3 separate regions of the Homo sapiens genome follow, and all the other regions are linked to region 1. Evidence: promoter capture Hi-C in human tissues and cell types (Jung and others, 2019). All regions are on one chromosome and are shown on one strand. The core of a region is centred on a gene start or on the middle of the fragment in contact, and the rest is flanking DNA. Distances in the headings are between cores, read along the strand shown.

Evidence for each region. The method cuts DNA at HindIII sites, captures the fragments that hold promoters and counts their contacts. A contact is called where the count stands out against the background at its distance.
Region 2: a contact is called between a fragment that was not itself captured here and the fragment with the promoter of SHH in region 1, in 1 of the 25 tissues and cell types used here (dorsolateral prefrontal cortex).
Region 3: a fragment that was not itself captured here is called in contact with the fragment with the promoter of SHH in region 1 in 3 of the 25 tissues and cell types used here (hippocampus, lymphoblastoid cells and thymus).

The regions. Positions count from the first base shown.
Region 1 is chr7:155,810,365-155,815,292 of GRCh38, forward strand. SHH (sonic hedgehog signaling molecule) reads right to left here and starts at 2,099. Exons shown (of 3, transcript NM_000193.4): 1 at 1,459-2,099. The coding sequence starts at 1,758. RefSeq lists an enhancer at 4,399-4,928. The HindIII fragment of the contact is 7,668 bases long and covers 1-4,928 here.
Region 2 is chr7:156,595,365-156,600,292 of GRCh38, forward strand. All of the region lies in intron 2 of RNF32-DT (RNF32 divergent transcript), which reads right to left. Among named protein-coding and RNA genes, the nearest start is that of RNF32-DT, 43 kb to the right of the region's middle. The HindIII fragment of the contact is 5,421 bases long and covers 58-4,928 here.
Region 3 is chr7:156,436,957-156,441,884 of GRCh38, forward strand. It overlaps LOC285889 (a long non-coding RNA gene), which reads right to left. Exons shown (of 3, transcript NR_038232.1): 2 at 4,274-4,424; 3 at 833-2,039. Among named protein-coding and RNA genes, the nearest start is that of LINC00244, 100 kb to the right of the region's middle. RefSeq lists an enhancer at 3,300-4,174. The HindIII fragment of the contact is 7,433 bases long and covers 1-4,928 here.

The DNA.
Region 1 (4,928 bases), core at 849-3,348:
GGGACCCTGGCAAGGCCCCTCCTCCGCGGGGAGTGAGGGTGACGAGAGGATGGGCGCCTCGGGCTAGCCGGAGAACTCCCTCCAGCCAGCTGCACGCAACGGGCACCCCATGGCCCGTGCAGAGTTAATTGTGGATCGCGCTGCTGTCTGGCACTGGCGCGCGCGTCCACACTCGCGGTCCAGATTTAAGGTGGTCGGGAGCAGATGAGGGAGAGCAAGGAAATCAGGACCATTTCCCATTCCTCTCCCTTCCGACAGCTGGAGCAGGCTACCTTGCCTGCCCCTCGCCTTTCTCGGCCTCAAGCAAGCCTGGGAATCGGGTCGGGAAGCAGGGCGGCACGGAGGTAGCTCCTCTCTCTCTGCCGTCAGTACCCTCCCCCTGCACTTGCGCCCCACCAGCGCCACTCCATCAGCCGCTGTACGCACCTAGCCCTAAAGGTAGGACTTGAATATTTTAATAGGGCAATAAAAAGGATGTTGACCTATATTTGCAAGGAAACCCATTTCTGGCTTCAGTTATACGTGCATGGAGTTTCAGAAAGTCTAGAATTGGCTGGGAGATTGGCAGCTCAGAAATCTCAAAGGAGGTGGGGAGAGAGAGAGGAATTCATATTTTGCTTAGCTTCCCCTCCCCCCACACTAATATTTATTCGCTCTTAATTCTTATGCAAGCAGGTTGAAAACTAAAGTGATGCAATGCCAATAAGTTCTAAGTCCCTCCCCTAAGGTACCTCGGGCTTGGAAGAACGAAAGAGCATCCTTAAAGAAATATCAATACATTCACACTCTGATGGGCACAATTGCGGACACGCAATCGCAAAGCCAGCTCTGCGATACAGCCAGCCACCCAGGGACGGGCGGAGTCTCCCCTGGAGCCCCTGCCTTTTGTCAGAACCGCCTCCTGGCTTTTCCAGTTGAGAATTCTTTGGTGGGGAGGTGCAGGGTGGGGGTAGTGGTGGGAAAGAAAACCACAGAGGCAACGGGAAACGTGGGGGCTCTGAGCTCCAATGCCCAAGGCTACGTTCGTTCGTTCGTACAGTACCAGGAGACCACTTCATGTTTGTGGGAGGGGGATTCCCAGCCTCTCCTTCCATTTCCACTCCTGACTTGGAAAGGGCCGACGCCCCCAAAGTGAAGGTCTCCCCAAGTTACAAGCCAGGGCAGAGGTAGGATGGGGAAGGCCATTGTAGCAAGACTCATCAAATCAGGGCCATAATGAACCACGTCTGTTACCGTCCTCACCCCCACCACACCCTAAACTTCTCCAGCTGGACCCTTGACCTCCATTCTCCTCCAGGAAGAGGAAGAGATGGGGGGCGGGCAGGTGGGTGGGGAAGGAGCGGGTGAAATCACCTTCCTATCTGCCCGAAGAGCAAACAGAGTTAAGTCTGGAAGTGTTCGGCTTCTCGTAACCCCCTGGAAAGCCACACATTCCACGCCCCGGCGCTGGGTTCCTACCTGAGTCATCAGCCTGTCCGCTCCGGTGTTTTCTTCATCCTTAAATATGATGTCGGGGTTGTAATTGGGGGTGAGTTCCTTAAATCGCTCGGAGTTTCTGGAGATCTTCCCTTCATACCTTCCGCTGGCGCCTAGGGTCTTCTCGGCCACATTGGGGATAAACTGCTTGTAGGCTAAAGGGGTCAGCTTTTTGGGGTGCCTCCTCTTCCCGAACCCCCTGCCCGGTCCGCACGCCAGTCCCGAGCATACCAGCAGCGAGGAGACGAGGACTAGCAGCAGACATCTCGCCAGCAGCAGCATCTCGCCCATGGAACTGATGACTTCCGAGCTGTCCCCGTGCGGGTCCGTGCGCGAGTGCGCGCGGCGGGTGTGTGCGTGTGCGCTCTCTCTTGCGCTTTCCCTTCCTCGCTCCGGCTCGCCCGCTCGCTCTCTCCCTCGCTGGCTGCCTCGCTCTTTCTCTTCCTATATAACCTTGCCCGCCGCGGCTGCGGGGGACTCTCCACCGCTCCCCACCCAGACAGGGGCTGGAATGGCAGGCTGCCGGCCGCTGATAACGGAACACATCGGAGTTGGGTCGCGAGACAGCAATCAAAAGACAAAAAGAGTCTGATTTTAAATGGTAGCAAGCCTGGAGAGCTTGTGAGAGAGGCTGCCTTTAGCACTATATTATAGCTGCCAGGGGCGCATCTGATTGGCCAAAGCCGCACAAGCTTGTCTTCTGATGTTAACCCTGAAGAAGACTACGTTTTTTTTTTCTGTTGCTGCTGTTGCTTTATTTTCACCTGAAGGATTCGAGTTAAAAAAAAAAAAATCTTTCCTAAGATAAAGGTGGGCGGGAGGGAGGAGCGCATGTCTTGTGGTAACAGCAGTTACTCCCGGCTTTGTGTACATCCTTGCGTTTCCCCCTGACTTTCCCTGGAATGGTAGGTGCTTCAGTTAAAACCAACTTAAGTTTTTAAAGGACAGTTTAAACCCCCGCAAGCTTCAGTCATCAAGCACAGAGTCGCTCACACATTTGAGGGGCACAGCTGCCCAGCTGTTATTTAATTTTTCTTCCCCAGGGACTTTATAGTGCAGGCTGGCTCTCCCTGCATTTTGAAGAAAGAGGACTGAGCCCCTCCTGAAGACTCAGCCTCTGTGGACCGAGGATAATTATGAGTGACCATAACTTAAAGCACTGGTATTTGAAATGCTTTAAGTGCCTTAGAAAAATGTAAAAATACTGCTCTTTTATTGTGCTTCAATTAATACATTTTTTTTTTTGTAGAGCTCTGCAAATGGGATGGAGGCGTGCTCAAGGGCAGTTACAGAGTGAACTGCGGGCGTCAGGGTGGATGGGCAAAGCAGGTCTGGGGGCTGCACCCCAGCACAGGGGAGAGAGTGGGGGCCAGTGTGTGCGCTGGGTGTGTGGAGGCCATTGCAGGGTGTTGGGGGGGGGGCAGGCGAGTGGGCGAAGCTGTGCTCACACAACCCCCACGATCGATCAGAGCAAAGTGCAGAGCCAGGGGTGAGCTGAATGTGGAATTCAGGCTCCTTGCAAAGCTGGCCTTGTGTGGGGGCTCAGCAGGCCAGCAGTCTTCAGGCACAGGAGCCACCAGTCCTAGGGGCTGCAGCCCAAGGGGTCAGGGGCCCTGGGGGAACAGTGTTCTGGTTAACGAGGGGCTTCCTAGAAAGAGGGCACAGTGCCCAGGAGGTGGCAATCTTTGAGTCTATAATCACCTCACTTTTTGCAGAAAAAGGAAAAAAACTCAAAAGTCCTAAGTAAACCAGGAAAATAAAATTTGAAGCTCCCTCTCAACCCTGCTTTTCTTTTTTTTTTTAAAAAAAAAAAAACAGATCATGCCCTTCCCCTTCTCAATCGCCATCCCACTCATGTGCAATGATTCCTCTAGCATAGGATTAGAGAGTGAGGGTTATTTACGTGGAGGGGAAATCCTGACCCTGAGGAGTCATCAGATGCTGCAAATGTGGCCCTGTGAAGTTAAACACTCTCCCTTGACCCCGGGCCCTTGGAGTGGAGGGGGAGAGGACCCCTGTGAAGCTCAGCCCTCAAACGATGGAAGTTTCCAGAAGTTCCCTTTGCAGATCAACTTTTTGTGTGTGTGGTGGGGGAGAGAAGGAGAGGAGCATCTTAGGACACATCTGTCTTGGGCATGAGAGGCTGAGCGTTAACAAGACTCGGTGGCCTGGGTGCCTTTGGGGAGGTTGACCCGGGCTCCCCTTCCCGCCTCTCTTTCTTGTTCCTTTCCATGGTTTGTGACGAATCGTGATCCCTGGAGGAGAGCACCGTGGGGGAGCAGCGTCCACTTGACCAGGCCCCGGCAGCCTCCACTGAGCGGAGCTGGAGCTCAGCTGAGCCCAGGGATTCTCCAGGCGGTGTGTCTGCGCTGCCTGTCCCGTTCCCAGTAAAAACAGACACAAAACAGGACCCGTGTTCTCTCCAGAGGAGGCCGGCCTGTTTGATGTGTCTACCTGCACAGCATGTGGATGTCACATCACTGGGTGGTGCCTGGGCTGGACCAGCGACCTGGCCCAGTGGGACATTTGCAAACTTTTGACTGCCCTGCCTTCCACCCTTGGCATCTCCTCTTGCCCCAGTCCCTCCTCCTCCCCCTGTCTTTCCCCGCTACTTACTCCCTTCCAAATGCAGGCAGAAGGCCCCCCACACGGGTTGCCACCCTGGGGCCTGAGAGATTGGGTGTGCAGCCCTGCCGGGAGGTGGCATGTGCACACAGCTCACCTCTGCAAGGGGCAGGGTGGGTGGGGTGTGCTTTTGGAAGCAAAAGCCTGAGCTGCACAGAGTTCCTTGTGGGCACAGCTGGACGTGGGGTGCCCCCAGGTGCGGTCAGCTCCCTCTTAGCAGAGCGCAGGGAGAAGACGTGGCTTGGCATTGAGCTTGGGTGACTCAGGGCATTTCCTGAAACCTCCCTGCCCTAAGGGATGGCGTGAGGCCCCCTCCCTCCCCTCCATCTCCAGACAGCCCTAGACACCCTGGAGAGCACCTCAGGGGCCGCCCCCCTTGTAGACTGGCCGATCCTCCAGAGTGAAATAATGATGGGCCAGAAAGCCTGCCCCCACGCCTAAGTTCAGAGGGCCTGCCCCCTGCATGGGTTGAGGGGAGCTCGGCGCAGAAAGCAATCCCAGTTATAGACCAGGCTGCTGACTGAGCCCCCCAGAGAAGCTGCTGCTCTGCCCTCCCGCCCTTCACTCCCTGTCCTTCCATCCCACCTGCTCCCCACGGCCCAGCACTGCCTTCCCCTCCAGAGGCCAGGTGGCTCTATCTCTTTGCCTTCCCCCCCCCCCCCAGACCATTTGGCCCCCTCCCCGCACCAGCAGAGGCTCCAAACACCAGCCTCCCTGACAAGGCCAGACATCCGGACATGCTGGGGCTCCGTTATTCATCTACCTGGGCTCTGCCTCTCTTCCTTGGGGTCACGCGCATCCCTCCCTCGCTCCTTCCTCCAGCTTTC
Region 2 (4,928 bases), core at 1,518-4,017, 790 kb after region 1:
CGGCTCCCAGGCTGGGTGGACCTCACGCTGTGGACAGCAGCCAGGGGAGAGGGCAAAATCAGACAACAGGATTCCCTGATTGTTCTGACATCAGGCCAACCCACTGAAGGCATGGGAGAGCAAGGTCTTGCCCTGCCTTCTCTCAACTCATGTGTCATTATGCTTCCATAATGCTTCAATTCATGTGTCATGAATTGAGAGACACCCATCATGAGACACCCCTTCTGCCTTTCTCCTCTACTGCAATGGCAGCACTAGAAGAGAAAGGAAGAATGGGTATGCAACTTAGGCTGAGTCCAATGCGTCCTTTGACCTGTCACTGGAGGAGCAACAGGCTGCCTGTGCCCAACAAGTTTGCATACATTGGGCTTGGATTTATATATTTATGCAAAACTCTAAATGTTTATAAGTATTTAAGCTCATACAAAAAAATCCTCAGTCCTTCATTTCTTCTCTTGACTTGACCAAGGTTCCCCCCAGTACCTCCTTCGGGACAGTCTTATGGTATTCTTTTGTTTTTCGTTTTTGTTTTTTTTGAGATGGAGTCTCGCTCTGTCGCCCAGGCTGGAGTGCAGTGGCACGATGTTGGCTCATTGCAACCTCCACCTCCCAGGTTCAAGCAATTCTCCTGCCTCAGCCTCCCGAGTAGCTAGGACTACAGGCGCCCACCACCACGCCTGGCTAATTTTTTGTATTTTTAGTAGAGATGCTGTTTCACCGTGTTAGCTAGGATGGTCTCGATCTCCCGACCTTGTGATCCACCTGCCTCAGCCTCCCAAAGTGCTGGGATTACAGGCATAAGCCCACACTCGGCCTATGGTGTTAATTCTGGGATCAAATTAGGCTCAAGCTGGGTGCAGTGGCCCACGTTTGTAATCTCAGCAGTTTGGGAGGCCAAGGCGGGCAGATCACCTGAGGTCAGAAGTTCAAGACCAGCCTGGCCAACATGGTGAAACCCTGCTTTTACCAAAAAATACAAAAATTAGCTGGGCACAGTGGTGCACACCTGTAGTCCCAGCTACTGGAGAGGCCGAGGAGGGAGAATCATTTGAACCTGGGAGGCAGAGGTTGCAGTGAGCCGAGATCGCACCACTGCACTCCAGCCTGTGTGACAGAGTGAGACCCTGTCTCAAAAAAAAAAAAAAAAAAAAAAAAAAATAGGCTCACATGTCTAGTTACTTCCAGTTTCACATCAATACACTTGTGGTTCTGAGCCACCTAGTAGTCTTTCTTTGGTGATAACACTACAGGCAGCTGGTTGTCTTCCAACTGTGTAAAAACCATATTTTGCTTCTGTAAGCCAAAGTACACAAGAGTCTCACATTTTATTCCTACTATGTCTTACCAGGTCCCTCAACAAGTGAAATCCAACAAACTCTGTCATTTAATTAATAGTATTTATCGATATTAATTTCTTAGTTTTGATTACTATATGATGGTTATATAAGATATTAATACTGGAGGAAGTTGAGGGAAGGGTATATTGGTAACTGCAGTATTTTGCAACTCTTTAAGTCTAAATCATCTCAAAGTTAAAAGTTTAAAAAAAAAATCAGGCTTTGGAATTGGTCTGGAAATGAGGATAAAGAAATATTAAAGTTGTTGCCTTCGTTTTCTGGTTCAGGGATTGAGGGATGGTGGTGCCACAGCCTTTAATAAGGAATCCTCTTTTAGGTAGGAAAATATTGGCACCTGTAACAAATAATCCTCAAAATTTAAACAGCTTAACAAGACAAAATTTTTATTTTTCTCTCAAACCACAATTCCAATGTGGATATTCTGTCATGACTGGCAATTGAGGGGTGGGTTCCAGGGCACTATGCCCCATGGCTGGCAATTGAGGGGCAAGCTAGGGGGTGCTATGCCCCATGGCTGGCAATTGAGGGGCGAGTTAGGGGGTGCTATGCCCCATGGCTGGCAATTGAGGGGCAAGCTAGGGGGTGCTATGCCCCATGGCTGGCAATTGAGGGGCAAGCTAGGGGGTGCTATGCCCCATGGCTGGCAATTGAGGGGCAAGCTAGGGGGTGCTATGCCCCATGGCTGGCAATTGAGGGGCGAGTTAGGGGGTGCTATGCCCCATGGCTGGCAATTGAGGGGCAAGCTAGGGGGTGCTATGCCCCATGGCTGGCAATTGAGGGGCGAGTTAGGGGGTGCTATGCCCCATGGCTGGCAATTGAGGGGCAAGCTAGGGGGTGCTATGCCCCATGGCTGGCAATTGAGGGGCAAGCTAGGGGGTGCTATGCCCCATGGCTGGCAATTGAGGGGTGAGTTAGGGGGTGCTATGCCCCATGGCTGGCAATTGAGGGGCAAGCTAGGGGGGTGCTATGCCCCATGACTGGCAATGGAGGGGTGGGTTGGGGAGAGCTACCCCACACACTGTTATTTCAAGACTCAAGCTAATGGAGGCTCTGCCATCATCAATGTGTGGCTTCTAAGGTTTCCCAGGGGGTCAACATCTACCTGGAAACTGGGAAAGAGTAAAAGGATTGCCCAAGACAATCCCATTTACAATAGCTACAAATAAAACAGAATACCTAGGAATATATTTAACCAAGGAGGTGAAAGATTGCTACAAGGAAAACTACCAAACACTGATGAAAGAAATTGCAGATGACACAAACAAATGGAAAAACATCCCATGCTCATGGATGTTAAGATTAATATTGTTAAAAAAACCATACTGCCCAAGCAATCTACAGATTCATTATAATCTCTATCAAAATACCAATGTCATTTTTCACAGACTTAGAAAAAAAAATCCTAAAAGTTATATAGAACCACCAAAGAACATGAACAGCCAAAGCAATCCTAAGCAAAAAGAACAAAGCTGGAGGCATTACATTACCTGACTTCAAATTATACTACAAGGCTATAGTTACCAAAACAGCATGGTACTGGTACAAAAACAGACACATAGATCAATGGAACAGAATAGAGAACTCAGAAATAAAGCTGTACATCTATAGCCAACTATTCACAAAGGCAACAAAAACATACACTGGGGAAAGAATACTCTTTTCAATAAATGGTGCTGGGAAAATCGGATTGTCATATGCAGAAAAAAGAAACTGGACCCCTATCTCTCACGACATACAAAAATCAACTCAAAGCCAGGCATGGTGCCTCACACTTGTAACCCCAGCACTTTGGGAGGTGGAGGCAGGCGGATCACTTGAGGTCAGGAGTTTGAGACCAGCCTGGCCAATACAGTGAAACCCCATCTCTACTAAAAAAAAATACAAAACTTAGCCAGGCATGGTGGTAGGCACCTGTAATCCCAGCTACTCGGGATGCAGAGGCAGGAGAATCATTTGAACTTGGGAGGCCGAGGTTGCAGTGAGCTGAGACAGCTGCCTCAAAACAAAAACAACAACAAAAAAAGTCAACTCAAGATGGATTAAAGACTTACATGTAAGACCTGAAACTAAAAATACTAGAAGAAAACCCAGGGAAAACTCTTCTACACATTGGTCTAGGAAAAGAATTCATGCCTAAGATCTCAAATGCAGAAACAACTAAAGCAAAAATAGACAAATGGGACTTAATTAAACTAAAAAGCTTCTGTACAGCAAAAGAAATCGTCAACAGAGTAAAGAGATAACCTGCAGAATGGTAGAAAATATTTGCAAACAATGCATCCAACCAGGGACTGATATCCAGAATTTACAAGGAATTCAAACAACTCAACAACAACAACAAAAATAAGCCCATTAAAAAAGTGAGCAAAGGCACCATCACTGGCCATCAGAGAAATGCAAATCAAAACCACAATGAGATACCATCTCACACCAGTTAGAATGGCGATCATTAAAAAGTCAGGAAACAACAGGTGCTGGAGAGGATGTAGAGAAATAGGAACACTTTTACACTGTTGGTGGGACTGTAAACTAGTTTAACCCTTGTGAAAGTCTGTGGCGATTCCTCAGGGATCTAGAACTAGAAACACCATTTGACCCAGCCATCCCATTACTGGGTATATACCCAAAGGACTATAAATCATGCTGCTATAAAGACACATGCACATGTATGTTTATTGTGGCACTATTCACAATAGTAAAGACTTGGAACCAACCCAAATGTCCAACAATGATAGACTGGATTAAGAAAATGTGGCACATATACACCATGGAATACTATGCAGCCATAAGAAATGATGAGTTCATGTCCTTTGTAGGGACACGGATGAAATTGGAAATCATCATTCTCAGCAAACTATCGCAAGAACAAAAAACCAAACACCACATATTCTCACTCATAGGTGGGAATTGAACAATGAGAACACATGGACACAGCAAGGGGAACATCACACTCTGGGGACTGTTGTGGGGTGTGGGTAGGGGGGAGGGATAGCTTTAGGAGATATACCTAATGCTAAATGACGAGTTAATGGGTGCAGCACACCAGCATGGCACATGTATACATATGTAACTAACCTGCACATTGTACACATGTACCCTAAAACTTAAAGTATAATAATAATAAAATAAAATAAAAGTGAGCAAAGGACAAAAATAGGCATTTTTCAAAAGAAGTTATACAAATGGCCAACTAGCATATGAAAAAATGCTCATCACTAATCAGAGAAATGTAAATTAAAATCACAATTAGATACCATCTTATACCAGTCAGAATGGCTGTTGCTTAAAAGACAAAAATAACAAATGTTGGCAAGGATATGGAAAAAAGAGAACACTTATACACTGTTGGTGAGGATGTAAATTAGTGCAGCCTCTATGGAAAACAGTATGGAGGCTGGGCGCGGTGGCTCATGCCTGTGATCCCAGAAATTTTGGAGGCCGAGGTGGGAGGATCGCTTGAGCCCAGGAGTTTGAGGCCAGCCTGGCCAACGTGGTGAAATCCCATTTCCACTAAAAATGCAAAAATTAGCCAGGCGTGGTGGCACACGCCTATAATCCCAGCTACTTGGG
Region 3 (4,928 bases), core at 816-3,315, 630 kb after region 1:
AGAGAAAATCGGAGAGCAGTGCTAGGTTTTATTTTTGATCTTCAATTCAACTCTGTCAAATATTTACAAATCCCCTCAGAGCGTGAGTCCACTGGGCGAGTGTCATTGGGTTCACCAAGTGGGAGAAAAAATTAAAATGAAATGAAGCAAGGGCAGAATTCCTAAGGAGTAGGAAGCCTTCATTCCAAAGCCGTTCGGGGATGGTCGATGGTTTTAATGCACTGACAGGTGCTCAGCCTTTTTCACCATCTCCCTAACCTTGAACCAGGAACTCAGAGCACTTCACAGGGTGCCCCATCCACATCGCGGTTCAGCCAGGGCCAGCAGAGCCAGCTGCTTCTGCATTAGTCCTGTCCCTGGTAAGACTGCCCTAACATTTGGGTTCTACCACAAGGCAAATACCATGGAAATCTGAATTTATGATGATGAGGGTATATATTTTTATGGAAAAAAAAATGCCTAGGCAGACATTTTCTTTTAGGATGCTGGATTGAGCCATAAATCCAGCCTAAGGTTTACCTTTGGGCCTCTTAGTGAAGTACCTGATTCCATTAAGAGTAGAAACATCCTTCAAAAACAGCTGTGGAACAAATACAACCTGCAAACAGCAGGTCTGAAACAGACTCTCCCTCGTCAACCACTTCTCAATTCCTGCAGCCCTACGTCTATCAACACAGACGTCTTAGAGTCTCTGGGACCTCGTTCTATACGGGACTTGTCTTTTTTAGAGTCTGAAATTCGCATTTCTCCCTTCAAATTCCCCACTTTAAATTAACATGAAAAGGCTAAACTTTAATAGAAGAGCCGCTCAATTATGATCTGGGCAATGGATGGGTGTGAATTCCTTTATTCTACAAATATTTATTGGGCCTTCGATATGGAGAAGGCCCATGCTAGGCAATGAGAAATGCTGTTACACTATGAAATGTTCTAACAATTAAATGCTTCTGTGTGTAGAATGGTTTATAACTAACTCAAAGTGCTCTGTGCAAAGGATCCCCGAAGTGAGCGGCGTGCTGGCCACGAAGAGTTTCATCACTTACTGTAAATCACATAAACAAATAACAGCATTATTTAAATGAGGGCCCTTTACTTACAGAAACCCTATTGCAGTTATTTTCTTTCAAGATCTAATTAGATTTAAAGCTTCATTTGGAAAACAGAAGATGAAAATGAACCTCTTATCCTAAGGGCATCTGGATGAGAATCAAATGCATACATGATTTTTTTTTATCATACAGCATATTTGCCCAGGTCATAAGCAAACAAAAGAGCTCTGTTCTACGGTGTAGTAAGAAGGAAGAAAAAATAAACTGAGCCATGTCTTGTGACAGTCGATGCTCATGCTTAGTGTGTTCATGATTGATTCCCTTGTTTTTGACACTGTTTTAGGAAAATTAGCACTAATTTGATCAGTCCCTGTACATTTGAGATACATAAATTTAGGGATTGTATTGAAACTCCCAAAACAAACATACACTACACCATACTTTTAGGAGTCAATATAAAGTATTCTGAAATTGAAAATAAACAGATAAGTAAGTTACACCCATCCTTAAAGATGTACAATGAGTAACATGGCCCTTAGTGGGGCCTTTAAATATTTGAATGATTGGCTGGATGAGCCAGTGAGACAACTCAGCGGACAACTTTTGAACTTGGCCCACTTGGAAAGCACATGCCTTTGTCAGAAGCTCATTCTATCAGGCCACAGTATTTGTTACAAAACATACAAATATAACTGCTTTCTGATTGTAGTAACTATATTTTTTTAATGTTCCTAAAACAAAGCATATGAAGAAGAAACACGCTTGTATTCTTCATTTTGCCAAAAGATTCTTAAATTTAAAGGAGCTGCAGGAAAGTTCTTGCGTACATGAAGCTGCCAGGTGCATTTAAGTGGTGGTCTATAAAGCAGTGGCTTTCTGGCTGGGCGCGGTGGCTCATGCCTGCAATCCCAGCACTTTGGAGGCCGAGGCAGACAGATCGCTTGAGCACAGGAGTTCGTGACTAGCCTGGGTAACACGGCAAAACCCCATCTAAAAAAAATAAAATAAACAAATACAAAAATCAGCCAAGCATAGTGGTGTGCACCTGTAGTCCCAGCAACTCAAGAGGCTGAGGTGGGAGGATTGCTTGAGCCTGGGAGGCAGAGGCTGCATGAGCTGAGATCATGCCACTGCACTCCAGCCTGGGTGACAGAGTGGGACACTGTCTCAAAAAAAAAACAAAAGAAAAATTAAAAAATAAAGTGGTGCCTTCTTGACCACACTCAGCAGAGACGGATAAGGCACAGAAATGTACAGTTCAGAGGAGCCACTGCTGAGAGATTGGTCGGGAATGACTATCAGGCCACCTCTGGAAAGACCAAGTCTGTGTGAGTCCATTATAGAGATTCTATCCACACTTGCTCTGTGACCACATCTACCCCGTCACATCCGTTGGTCCCTGTGGAAGTTGCCTCTTTGCAGTGACACTTTCATAGATTTCTTGAGGAGTCACTGACTGGCAGACAGTGGCACTTTTAACAAGATGGAAACTCCCTGTGCAGATAATTAAGAGTCCCAGAGAGAGGAGAAGTAGTGCTTCCCGCATCTGCTCCCACCTCCAGCCTCCTGGGTCCGCTCAGCTCCATCCACTTACTCCGTCTGAGCTTCCCAGGGACTTCCAGCCACCAGGTGAAGAAAGCATGTGAGAAGCTGTTCGCTGGTCAGTGTCCTTCACTGGCTTCTCCAGGTTTCCCCTAACAGGAAAGGGTTTCTCATTCCAATCTGCGTTTTAGGGTGCTGAGCACCTCCATGTAGGGGTGCCAAGCCACCTGCGTGTCTGGGTGCTGAGCCACCTGCATGTCGGGGTGCTGAGCACCTGTGTGTTGGCGTGCCAAGCCACCTGCGTGTCTGGGTGCTGAGCCACCTGCATGTCAGGGTGCCAAGCCACCTGCGTGTTGGGGTGCTGAGCCACCTGCATGTTGGGGTGCTGAGTGACCTGCATGTTGGGGTGCTGAGAGACCTGTGTGTCGGGGTGCTGAGCCATCTGTGTCTTGAGGTGCTGAGCACCTGCATGTTGGGGTGCCGAGCCAACTGCGTGTCGGGGTGCTGGGCACCTACTTGCTTGTCCTCACTTATGCCCCTTCCTTCTCTGGCCCTGGACTCTCAGCCCATGCCTGGCCACCTGGGTGTAGACCTCACATGGCTCCAATCTGACTCACTTCTGCAGTCACTCCTGTGCCCACGGCTGCTCCCTGGGAATGGATGGAGTGTGGGCTTGGTGCCTGGCCTAGAAGACGAAAGAAGAGGGGGCCCTGTATGGACACCTCCACTCTGGCCCCGCCAGAGTTAGGGAAGAGGGAAGGAGAACGGGCTGGCTCAGATGGGGCACCAGGTCCCTTAGATGCCCAGGAAGGAGGCCGTCGAACCCCTGGCTCACAGTGCATCCTCCTCTCCTGGCTTCCCCTAACAGCTGTTTTCCACACGGCCTATGTGATAGCAGGCTTGTTTGGTCACATTTCTGCCTAATTATTTCATGTTCAAAAATCATTACTGACTAAACGATGAGATCCTTAAAGGCCCCTGGCACTTGCCCAGTGGAAAAGTCAGTGAGGAAATCGACGCTGATGCCTCCCAAGCCCAAGCTGAGGTCGCAACAGCCCTCCCTTCTAGACCGGCAGGTCCAGCTGCCAGCCCCTCCACGGGTCCTGAAGGCTCTACACCCAGGCGGCGATTCCCCTGCACCCCGGCCTCCTTGAGGGTCCCTGTCTCAGCGCCACCAGCTACACACACCAAAAACCAGGGCACACTCCTTGACACACTTTCCATTTCATCCCCAAAATCAAACGCAAGCTGCTACCAACGTCCCATCGGGCTTTCCCCTGTGCCTGTGCTTTTTCCACACTCCACACATTTGCCTCGGCCCTTCTCCCACCCCCATCCGAGACACCGCCGCTTCTCACCTGCCCCCCCGGCAGTAGGTCCTGGTTGTGTAGGATGGACCACACTCTCTGCAGCCCATTCCCACACGACAGCCAGAGTGTCTGATCTGCCACTGATCTGACTGGGTCACTCCTGCACCCAAAACCCTCCCATGGCTCTCCGTGACCCTCCAAAGCGATTCCAGACCCATTCTCCTGCTTCATCATAAGCCCCCATCGACCTCACCTCCCATCCCCCAAGGCCGTGAGCAGTCCCTCTGGCCTCCTTCCGCCAGCTCGGCAGCATCCTTGCACCTCCGGCTTTTGCACAAACTGCCCCCATTGCTCTTCACCCCCCTCACTTACCTCATTCTCGTTCTTCCAAACGCCACTTCCTCAGCAAAGCCTCTCCCCGCTGTCAACTTCCCTCTGTACATGCTCACGACACTGCACTTGTCCTCCCTTCGTACCCTGTGATGATGGCTCCACTTCCTGCTGCATGGACTCCTGAATACACCTAATAAATAAATAAATAAATAAATATAAAACAGCAAGCAAACAACAGAAACCACCGCTGTGCACTCCTGCATTACATCAGATCCAATTTACCTGAACCACAAGAGGTTAATTGCTTCCAAAGGTGGTGTGTTTTCTAACTGGTGCAAAAAAGACCATTGCAAACTCTGGGATTTAGGACTTTTCTACGACAATTCATGACAGTGATGATGAGACTGTGTGCTCGGAGGAGCCACAGAGCAGAGGGTACACAGACCCTGCAGAGGCACAGCAGGGCCTGGAATTCAGCAGGGGACTAAGGCACCCGGAGTCACACAGTGGGAGGCCATCACAAACCCCAGCCCTAAGGGACCAGGGAGAGAGTGATTACCCGAACCCACTGGCCGCAGAGAGAGAAATGAGACCCCATCCAAACACGACCTGGCAGGAAAGTTGCCAGGAAATAAAGGCCCCAGCCTCTCCCCTTACCCCCTTCTGATCTTACACCAGGGCCTTCCATTGCCCA